Regions from separate parts of the Homo sapiens genome. Here regions 1 and 3 are each linked to region 2. Evidence: promoter capture Hi-C in 16 types of primary human blood cells and fetal thymus (Javierre and others, 2016). All regions are on one chromosome and are shown on one strand. The core of a region is centred on a gene start or on the middle of the fragment in contact, and the rest is flanking DNA. Distances in the headings are between cores, read along the strand shown.

Region 1 (3,774 bases), core at 1,203-3,702, 1.8 Mb before region 2:
GCCGAGAGCTGATTGTTCAGAGAGAAACTGGTGGCGGAGCAAGGCTGACCAAATTGTCAAGCCCACATTGTCATGGTTGAGGGACTTTGTGCCTCTGGGACTGCCGTAAGGAGCAACGGCTCCTCAGGCTGGCCCGATACAAATGACGTTTGATTCTCAGACTAAAACGAGGGCTCAGGTACTCTGGGGAGAGGATGTGCCGTGGGGCCTCCGCAGGGACCCAGTGTCCCCGGGAGCCAGGTGTGGTCCTGGCCGCCCACGGCCCCAGCCCTGAGTCTACCCCCGGGTTCTGTCCCGCTGTCCCCTGTCTGGATGGAATTCGTCTGCTCAGCTGTCTGCCTGCGTGTGGCCTCCAGTGGCTGCACCAGCCCCTGGATCTACGCGACCCTTGGCTCAGGCTGGGAGCTCACAGGCAGAGTTTATCCCTATCCCAGGCCTGGGCTCCTAAGAGAGGACGTGGCAGTCCCTGCTTACCTCTCGCAGGCCAATGGTGGGCCACAAGAGCCGCTCATGCCCCACCGGCCCGGCCCTGACTAGTCAGTTCCAGCCAACCGCTGGGGACCTTGGGCAGTGCAGGCTCAGCTGAGGCCAGGCAGGAAGGATGCCACCCTTCGGACGCAGTTCCGGAGCCCGTGGGGAGGTGGGAGGCAGGACGCAGCAGCGAGTGCCCGGCCCTTGTGTGGAACTGACTGGAGGCTCATTGGTCCCTTGTGAATGACTCCCTGACTGGATTTTCTTCACCTTTTGAAATAATAAGTATGATAGAAAGTTCTGGAAAACAGCCCTCGATGAGTCAAGTGTAGGTGGATTAGACTTCTGAGGTATTCCTAGATTTTCAAATTTAAGTATTTTTCTAGATGAAAGCTTGACAGTTAGCTCACCTATAAATACAGTGAATTTAACTAAAGCTAGAAATATTTCTGGTTTTGGGAAAGATGCATATCTTCTAATCTTGGCCACCATTTGGAAACATTTCAGAAGCCCAATAATAGACACCCTGTGTTTTTCCATATTTTGATCGACAAATACCAAATGTTGTCTCTGTCCTGGGCAGCAGGCCACATGTGATCAATGAAACACTGTCCTCCGCGAAGCACCTGTGCTTCCTGGAACACTTTCCTTGGGCCTTCGCTCAGCTTGTTGCCTCACTTCATCTGGGTCTCACAGGTCTCAGCCCCCATGCCCCTTCCCAGAGGGCAGGTACAGCTGCCCTGGCTGCTTGTGGAAGCTAGAATGCTCCCTTATCATGCTCTATCCACTTGTCTGCTGTTTTTCTTTCTAGTACTTGCCACTATGTGTCATTCATACACACACACACACACACACACACACACACACACACACAAACACACATAGGTATAGTTTATTATTTGTCTCCCACACCAGAATATAAATGCCCTAAAGGCAGAGACTGTCTTGGCCACTGCTTTATTTCATGACCTAGAAAACAAATATCCACACCACGTTGGTGGCACACAACAATGACCATGGAGGTTTGCTCACCATCATTATCACCATCATCGCCATCACCACCAATGAGCTGAGTGGTTTTGCTGACCTGGGCTGGCCAGGTCCAGGGATCACTCATGCATCTGCAGTCAGCTGCAGATCAGCGAGGGGGCATTTCTGATCATGGCTGAGCTTTCTCATGTGCCTGGGGCTCAGCTGGAGCAACTGTTGCGTTTTGGGTCTCACTCTTCAGCAGGACCCTGGTGATGAAGGCAGAGAGGCCAGACTGAGAGTGGAGATATGCAAGACGGAGACCAGCATCTGGTTCCACACACCCCATTCTGTTGGCCAAAGTAATTCCCAAAGCCAGCCTAGCGGGGAAATAGATTCCACCTCTTGACTGGATGGTCTGCAAGCAGTATTGCAAAAAATGTGAATACAGGGAAGGCTAAGGATTTGAAGGTATTTTTGTAATAAGTCTACCACAAATAATGTGCTGAGTGCAACAATAGAAGTATGCACAGTACCCTGGGAGAACAGAGGAGGCAGACTTAGCCAAACCTTAGGGTTCAGGGAAGGCTTCTGGGGAAAGCTCATGTGTGTCTATCTATGTAAATTTATAACATAAAAGATGAACTCCTAAAGCAATTCGTGAGCAAAATAAAGCTAACTAAATTCCACTAAAATCTTCCCTCTTTGATATACATGAGGACTTGCATATGGAGAGCTCTGGACCTATATGATTAGTCTTGTTCTGAATTTCTGTAATTTCTTCTCTTTTCATAGGTTTTATCTCTATAATGCCTGAGGAATCAGCCTCCTTTTCTAAAAACATTAAATCACTGTGACATGTACTAAGTTCATGTATTTTGATTAGACTTGGGGCTCAAAAGTGGTATCTTTATTTTTCTGAGATTAGCAGGTTACTTTGAATAGGTTTGTCCTTTTCTGTCTCTCTAAACTGTCTTCTGAATGACCATATTTTCCTGAGATAGGGATTCTTCCCAGGACAAGGCTGAGGTTCTGATGATACCATCATTATCTTTTTCATCACCATTATCACCATCACCTACATCATCATCACCATTATTACCATCATAATCATCAGCAGCAGCATCATACCACCACCTTCGTCATCATCACCATCACCTTCCTCATCACTGTTTTACCATAATAATCATTACCATCACTATCATCACTATTATCACCATCATCACCATTGCCATCATTACCATTACCACCATCTTCACCATCATCACCATCACCATCATCATCATGATCACTGTTATTACCATAATAATAATAATAATTGTCATCACCATCATCACCATTATCACCATCACCATCATTAGTATCACCATTATCACCCTCATCACCATCACCATCATCACTATCACCATCATCATTATCACCATCACCATCATCACCATCATCACCGTCACCATTATTATCATCATCATCATCATCAGCATCATCATTACCACCATCTTCACCATCATCACTATCACCATTATTACCATAATAATCACCATCACCATCACCGTTATTACCGTAATAATAATCACCATCATCATCACCATCACCACCATCACTATCATCATCATCACTGTTAGCATCACCACTATCTGTACCACCATCATCATCATCATAATCACCATCACCATTATCACCATCATCATCACTATCATCATTATCATCACCATCACATCATCACCATCAATCACCATCACTATCACCATTATTGCCATGATCACAATTATCATTACCATCACCATCATCACTATCATCCCATTTTCATCATCACTATCATCATTACCATTACCATTATCACCATCACCATCGTCATCACCACCATCTTCACCATCATTATTGCCATCGTCCTCATCATTACCATTATCCTCATATGTAATTCACACTGTGCTAAAATTAATTGGAAATATAGGCCAGAAGATTCATGGAGGAGGTGAGATTGAAAATAAAGATTCATGTTTGATTAGACTCATGCTTACGTCATGAAAATGTGTGAACTCTCTAAGAAGAAAATAAAGATGAAAAAGAAGTCAAAGTATCAATAGGTGATGATGCTCCTATAGGACTAAGGGAAGAGGAAATGTAGCTAGTTATGGGTTCAGATATGGAGTTGGCAGGCCTCACTAAAAGCTGAAGTTAAAGCAAACATGAATCTAGATGAGTCCATTGTGCTTTGAAATAGCCCGTCTCTGCTGATGTAGTAGGGCAGTTTCCATGGAGTGGTGGATAGAATTCAGATTGCAGCGTGCACCTATCACAGCACCAGACATCATAGGATGTCTACCGCTCAGCTGC
Region 2 (3,881 bases), core at 551-3,050:
CATCCTTAAGCAACATATGACTGTAATTATCTAAGTTACGACTTTCACTAAAAGAGAGGAAACAGGGATCAGATTGTTCCACCATCAGAGATGGGCTAAAAAGCAACTCCTGTTAATCACTCATCCAGTCAAACCAGGCTAGGCCAGGTTCCAGTTTCTCCTCCCATTCACACTTCTGGGTTACTCCTGTTTCACTTCCCCCCACCTCCCCCGTTACAAAGCCATTAAATGGAACCATTTTTATATGCTCTGGAGAACACCACTAATTAAGGTAAAAGCAGTATGCTGATTTAAGCAAAAGCATTATCCTTTTAAATGACACCTCACTCCCCTCTAAAAATCTAAAGTTCATACGGAGTAACTTTATTTATTTATTTAGAGACAGGTTGTCATTCTGTCACCCAGGCAGGAGTGCATTGCTGTGATTTTGGCTCACTGCAACCTCTGTCTCCCAGGCTCAAATGATCCTCCTGCCTCAGCTTCCCAAGTAGCTGGGACTGCAGGTGCGCACCACCACACCCAGCTAATTTTTGTATTTTTTGTAGAGACGGGGTTTGCTCGTGTTACTCAGGCTGGTCTCGAACTCCTGGACTCAAGCGATCTGTCCGCCTTGGTCTCCCAAAGTGCCGAGGTTACACACATGAGCCACCATGCCTGGCAAGGGAGTAACATGATTTAAATGTTGAGACTAGTGGAGGGCAGGAGAAATTGCTGTGGCACCTGGAACCGTCAGTAGTACACACAAATGAGTCTTCTAGTTCTGAGAATCTCAGTCCCTGTCCCTTGATAATTGAAGGCATATATAACACAAATAACTGAATCACACCTTCATGTCTGATTAAGAACCAATAAAAGAATCTCCAATCTGCCCAAGCTAGAACTTGATCCCTAAGCATAATGTGGACTTCTCTTCCTCCACTCCTGCCTGCAAACATTAGGGACAAGGAAGGTATTGGTAGCAGGCCCCGGGTTCTCCGCCTCTTCCTGCAGTCTATGCTTGGATGATCTACGGAATCTGACCTTGGCAGGCGGTGGGGAGTTTGGTTTGGTGGCCCTGTCTGTGAGGACCAAATATTGTCTCTATTTCACAGATGAGGAAACTGAAGCCAATTGAATAAGACACCTGCCCCAGACCATCAAGCTGGCATGGGAATTTTGTCTCCCCTCAGACGCTTCCTCCTATAGCCTTAAACGCTGCCTCAAATGCTGGCGGGAGCTAGGGACGCTGTCCAGGGCCCTTTGAACCTGGGAGGCTTCTGTCCCGCCACACTCCCCACCCCAGGTCTCCGGGAAAGGGATCCGTTGGAGAAAGGCTGGAGTTCTCAGCAGGCCCCTGGGGAGGGGTGTGGCCTGACCAGCGCTCGGCTCCCCGCAACCCCATCTCCAACCCGGGTCGTTCCACTCGACTCCACCAGGGAGGGCCACGCAGGCTCAGGCCAAGTGCGCCGCCCAGCTTGTCCCTGCGTACCGGGGACGCGCTCGGCGCTGCTGGGACACGAGTGGCCCGGAGGTGCGAGAGGCCCCGGGGCCATGGCCGTCACGGGCCTCCGCCCCCGACCGCGCGCTCGGGAACAGCCCGGACACCATTGTTCCCGCCTGGCTGCGGCCGGGCGCCCCACGCTCCCCCACGAATGAGGCGTGACTCTCGCCGCTGACCCGGGTCCTCCCCGCCCAGCCCGTTCCCAGCTCAGGGCGCCCACCCGGGAAGGAAGGTCCATCAGGAAGACCCACCTGGGAAGGAAGGCCCACTAGGCAAGGCCCTGTTACCAGCAGCAAGCGCGGCGCCGGTTCCGTACCACGTGTCCCGGCCACGACCCCCGGCGCTGGCCCGCCCCGCGGTCGCCCTGGCCACCAACCCCGCCTTGTCCGGAGGGCAGGCATCGCCACGCCCCCGCCACGCCCACCAATCCAGCCACAGGCAGAGGGGTGGTGTCACTCTCTCCCCGCCCCATTTCCGCCCTGAGCCAGGTGCGGAAGGTGACGTCACCTCTCCCAGCTCCATTTCCGTCCCGCCCACCAATCCCGGCCTGGTCCACAAGGCTTTCGCCTCGTCGCCCCTCCCCGACGGTAGACGGGGATGTGGGCGTGGCGAGGGGGCGGAGATTTCGTGGGTTGGGATTCAGGGGAGGCAGGGCACACGGGAGCGCGTGTCCGGAGCTGTGGGCTTGTGCTGTGCTTCCCGGTTGCTCTTGGGTGGGCGGGGGGCCTGGTGCTTCAACGGTGGGGTCCGAGAAGTCGCCTGCAGTGCGGCAATGGAGTCCAAAACTAGGGGGCCCTGACTCCACCCTCTGATCTCCCAGGCTCCGGAGGTCCCACGACGCTCCCATTCCCTTGCGCATCCAGCACTGCACTTTCCGTTGCGTTTCAGTCCCGGCGGAGTCGGGGCACGGACTCCTGCGGGTCACACAAGCTCCAATGAGAGGTCGGTCTGAACTGGATTAGGAAAGCGTTCGCCAGCATCGTTACCAGTAGTGGAAATATTTTAGTATTTGTGTCCCATGACCCTAGGAACTGATGAAGGAAGCAGAGCCAGCACCGTGTTTGAGCGTCTGCGACAGCGCTTTCCTTTTTAATCTTAACAACAATTCTTGGGGGTAAAATTGTTATTCCCTAGTCTGCTCACTTTTCCAATAGAGTGTTCTCAAAAGACTTTCTTTAAACTTGTACCACTACCACATTCTTTAAGGAGTGATGGCTCGGGAGTTATTATTTTTTAAAAATGAATTTAATAGTTGTAAGAGATGTATACGTTCCCACATAAAGTAAAATGTTAAAATTGTCTCCTCCCTTAAAATTTACATGGTTTGTTTCCTCTTTTTATATTTATTTATTTATTTATTTATTTATTTATTTAGAGACAGAGTCTTGCTCTGTTGCCATGCTGGAATGCAGTAGCCCAGTCTCAGCTCACTGCAAGCTCCGCCTCCCAGGTTCAAGCCATTCTGCCTCAGCCTCCCGAGTAGCTGGGACTGCAGGTGCGCACCACCGCACCCAGCTAATTTTTGTATTTTTAGTAGAGACAGGGTTTCACCATATTGGTCAAGATGGTCTCGATTTCTTGACCTACTGATCCACCCGCCTCAGCCTCCTAAAGTGCTGGGATTACAGGCGTGAGCCACCCCGTCCCCCCCATCCCTGCCTCCTCTTTTATTTTTTATTTCTATTCCACATCCCTCATAGAATTTTGTTAAATGTAACATTTTTATACTTAATAGTCTTACTCATATCCTAATCATTTCTCTACAACAGACTATGATAAAAATTTAAATTAATATTTACTTTGCTATAACCAGATGAGATTAGGCATGTTCAGGGTGGTATGGCCATAGACACTTTGCTATAACCAAAAAGCTTTAAGTATTAACATTTTTTCTTCTGGATTAAATTCTCATAATAATTATTGTACATGAATGATAAAAAGAAAAAACTATATTACACATTTTGCAAACATTGCAAAAAGTAAACATTGGTGGAAGATACATCCTTTAATCATATCTACTGGGCTTTTAAATAAATTCGTTCAGGTATCCATAAATGAGATTATTGCTGAAAAGAGGGTTTGGTTAAAAAAAAAAACAAAACACACACACACACACACACACATATGTATATAGCAAAAAGAAGTGATTTAGAGTAGAAGCCATAACACACTACTGTTACCAAAATTTAATAGGCTCAAGGTAAGAATAAATAATGAGCAAAGAAGTAGTTGAGAACTTTAGAGCAATCAGATGCTTCAGTCCAAGTGAAAACATGAAAATGCATTTGCAGTACTCAGTGTTGAAGAAGTTGGTGAACATGTTTCTCCTATGAATCTGAATAAATGTTAAGAAAATACAAAACACAACATTTACCCTTAATATAGAACCCTGTTACCTGGA
Region 3 (3,620 bases), core at 830-3,329, 1.9 Mb before region 2:
GGGCGTGAGAACTGTGGAGGGGGTATGGGGGCCATGGAGAAAGGTGTGCGGGTCGTGGTGGGGGCGTGGGGGGCGTGGACGGGGCGTGAGAACCGTGGAGGGAGTGGTGGGGGCTAAGGAGAAAGGGGTGCGGCCCGTGGTGGGGGTGTCGGAACCGTGGAGGGGACGTGAGAGCCGTGGAGGGAGGGGTGGGGGTGGTGGAGGGGGTATGGGGGCTGTGGAGGAAGGCGTGTGGGCCCTGGTGGGGGCGTGGGGGCCGTGGAGGGGGCACGGGTGTGTCCTGTGCCTGCTGCCACCTGTTGGGGGTGTCCTGAGGAGTTCTCATTGCCAGTGGTGGCGCTTAATTTCTCTGGGAGGTTCACCTCGCGTGTGCAGTAGATGGAGTGCACACGAGAATGGGAAGTGTAGAAAAGGGATAAATGAAAAAGTCAGAATGGCACTCAGGAACCTGAGAACAGTGGATGGGTGTCGTGGTCCCCTTGGGCCGCCTGGGAGGCCCCTCGTCTTAGTTTTGTTTTGACCTGGCTGTAACGAAACCTTGGCAGTAAGGAAACCTTGGCTGTGTCATGTGGCAGCACTTTGCGAGGCCCACTGGACTTGGCAGTAGTTTATTCCCATGATTGGAGGCCCCTGGAGGGCCCTTGTCAACCAACAGCACTGGGTCCAGGAGCCGGGGACGAGGGGCGAAGCCGTCTGTTCTGTGGCTTACTGATGATGAATGCGGGGAGCGCTTGGGCCTGCGCCTCTCTGTACACCAAGGCCTGAGGCCTGATCGGGAGCTCACTAGAGGCTTTTGCTGTTTCAGTGGCCCTGATCCTGTAATGAAGAAACCTCGGTCAGAAGAGGGTCCGGGGAAGAGGGTCCTGGGTCCCTGGCTGAGAAGGTGCCTGGTGGGGAAGAGGGTCCTGGGTCCCTGGCGAGAAGGTGCCTGGTGGGGAAGAGGGTCCTGGGTCCCTGGCTGAGAAGGTGCCTGGTGGGGAAGAGGGTCATGGGTCCCTGGCTGAGAAGGTGCCTGGTGGGGAAGAGGGTCCTGGGTCCCTGGCTGAGAAGGTGCCTGGTGTGGGGAAGAGGGTCCTGGGTCCCTGGCTGAGAAGGTGCCTGGTGGAGAAGAGGGTCCTGGGTCCCTGGCTGAGAAGGTGCCTGGTGGAGAAGAGGGTCCTGGGTCCCTGGCTGAGAAGGTGCTTGGTTCCTTGTTGCTGAGGATCCTGCGCCTCTCCAGTTAGCCACGTGTTTTCTTCCTTGGAAAGGAAGTAGGTCCTTGGAAAGCTGTTCAGTCTTTCTGCTCATCAGCTGCTTCTGCGAATAGCTTCAGTTTCCTGCCCGCTGCCCCTCCACTCGTGGTCATGCTTCTCTCCCGCCCTCCTGGGGTGGCTCGGGACTCTGTGCAGGGTCTGTGTGTTCCAGAGGCATTTTGCCGTTCACTCTCGACCGGTGACATCGATAACTTGGGCTAGACCATGCGCTTTTTTTTTTTTTTTTTTTTTTTTGAGACAGAGTCTTGCTCTGTTGCCCAGGCTGGAGTGCAGTGGCGCCATCTCGGCTCACTGCAGCCTCCCCCTCCAGGGTTCAAGGGAATCTCCTGCCTCAGCCTCGGGATTAGAGGCGCATGCCACCACGCTTGGCTAATTTTTGTATTTTTAGTAGAGACGAGGTTTTGCCATGTTGGCCAGGCTGTCCTCAAACTCCTGATCCCAAATGATCCGCTCTCCTGGGCTTCCCAAAGTGCTGGTATTACAGGTGCTGGCCACCATGCCCAGCTAATTTTTGTGTTTTTAGTAGAGACAGCATTTTGCCATGTTGGCCAGGCTGGTCTCGAACTCCTGGCCCCAAGTGATCTGCCCGCCTCGGCCTCCCAAAGTGCTGGGATTATGGGTCTGAGCCACTGTGCCTGGCTAGATTATTCACTTTTAGTTTATTACTCAGTGTCTTGGTCAGAGGTACTGGAAGTTCTAGGTGATGTTTTATGATCCTTTTGGGGAACATTTTGGAAGCCTCGACAGTCGTGCTTTGAAAACCCCACAGATGTACAGGGGCCGATGACACAGCCGCATTGTTTACACTGACAGACTCCACTAGTAGTCTTGGACATGTGTGTTCAGAAATCTGTATTCCTTTACTGCAGGGAAAACTAGATCTCTCCCTGCTGGATGTTGCCTTTTTCGAATATTTAGAAATGAGTCGAACGTACTGAGCACCATTCTGACTTAAACAAAGGCTAACGTTTCCTCTTTCATATACTTAATTCCATGTTTTTATCCGTGGTGCATCCTAGCACTGCCCAGTCTCCTTTCTCATACCACTGTGTGCGTATAACAGACTCATATACCTGACTTCATTGATTTATTTTTTATTTTAAAATTTATTTTATTATCATTATTACTGTTATTTTTTAAGATGGAGTCTTGCTCTGTTGCCCAGGCTGGAGTGCAGTGGCGTGATGTCAGCTCACTGCAACCTCCACCTCCTGGGTTCAAGCGATTCTCCTGCCTCAGCCTCCGGAGTAGCTGGGACTTCAGGCGCGTGCCACTACACCTGGCTAATTTTTGCATTTTTAGCAGAGACGGGGTTTCACCACGTTGGCCAGGCTGGTCTTGAACTCCTGACCTCAGGTGACCCACCCGCCTCGGCCCCCCATAGTGCTGGGATTGCAGGCATAAGCCACTGTGTCCAGCCTTGACTTTATTTAAATATTAGCCTTTAGGAGCCGGTAGGAGTTGGATAGTTTTTTCTTCCTTTGTCTCATCTCCGCACCAGTTCTGCTGATCAGCCCTTAACTGCTGGCGTTTTTTACATGGACAAGTCCTTTAACACGGCGTATGAATTGCGCACTAACTGCCCGCTGATTGAAAACCAGCATTTGTTACCGTGTCCCTCAGATCTGGGCAAGTGCCTTCAGTGACAGGCGCTGTCTCACCCTGATGAAGAACCCCTTGGAATGGATTTGTTACCAGTTTGTTGGGATTCCTAAGTGTTATCTCCAAATATACACTTAGAACATTTTAAAGGAACATTCTGAGTTAGCAGATCCCTCCATTTTACTGAATGTTAAAAATCTCTGAAAATCTTATTTGAAAACCAAGAACTTGGGGCCTTATACGGAGACATGGCTGTAAGGGACTGCAGATGGCGGCTGGGTGGTGAAGAATCCTGTGTTTTATAGTTCAGAGAGTTTTAAGATATCCGGAAACATCTGTACTCCTGCCCTGTTTCGATGTCTAGATTTACAGAAACCCAAGGCCGTAAATGCAAAACATAAAACCGAATTTTTGTTAATCCGTGTTGTGTCCACTTGCAGTACAGTCTCTTCTGACTTTGGAAAAGCCTTAAAACCTCCGAGCACAGCCCACACCTCGGCTGTGTTTCTCCCTGTCTCACGCGTTCCTTGGGTAAAGTGGGAGGGTTCTGACCACACCATCCCTCCCCACCGCAGAGTTCATCCCAGACTGTGGCTCAGACACGCTCTCCGTCAAGGTCCGACCATCAGGGGCGCAGAGCTTGAGGGGCGGAACCCCGGGCTCAGTTCTCCTGGGCAGCCGGCAGGTGGCGGCATGGAGGTGGATAGCGTGGCTGCCTTTGCTCACCCGCCTCTGGGGGACCTTGGGGCATCAGTGTTTTGGGCT

Evidence for each region. The method cuts DNA at HindIII sites, captures the fragments that hold promoters and counts their contacts. A CHiCAGO score of 5 or more calls a contact.
Region 1: a contact is called between a fragment that was not itself captured here and the fragment with the promoter of CNDP2 in region 2, in 1 of 17 cell types (endothelial precursors). The highest score is 7.0, in endothelial precursors.
Region 3: a contact is called between a fragment that was not itself captured here and the fragment with the promoter of CNDP2 in region 2, in 1 of 17 cell types (activated CD4 T cells). The highest score is 5.4, in activated CD4 T cells.

Annotation. Positions count from the first base shown.
Region 1 is chr18:76,343,432-76,347,205 of GRCh38, reverse strand. No RefSeq gene overlaps it. Among named protein-coding and RNA genes, the nearest start is that of LINC01893, 140 kb to the right of the region's middle. The HindIII fragment of the contact is 3,172 bases long and covers 867-3,774 here.
Region 2 is chr18:74,494,282-74,498,162 of GRCh38, reverse strand. It overlaps CNDP2 (carnosine dipeptidase 2), which reads right to left and starts at 1,800. Exons shown (of 12, transcript NM_018235.3): 1 at 1,732-1,800. RefSeq lists enhancers at 692-791, 1,175-1,687, 2,245-2,514 and silencers at 1,285-1,334, 1,465-1,974. The HindIII fragment of the contact is 6,969 bases long and covers 1-3,353 here.
Region 3 is chr18:76,380,903-76,384,522 of GRCh38, reverse strand. All of the region lies in intron 3 of ZNF516 (zinc finger protein 516), which reads left to right. Among named protein-coding and RNA genes, the nearest start is that of ZNF516-AS1, 110 kb to the left of the region's middle. The HindIII fragment of the contact is 8,193 bases long and covers 1-3,620 here.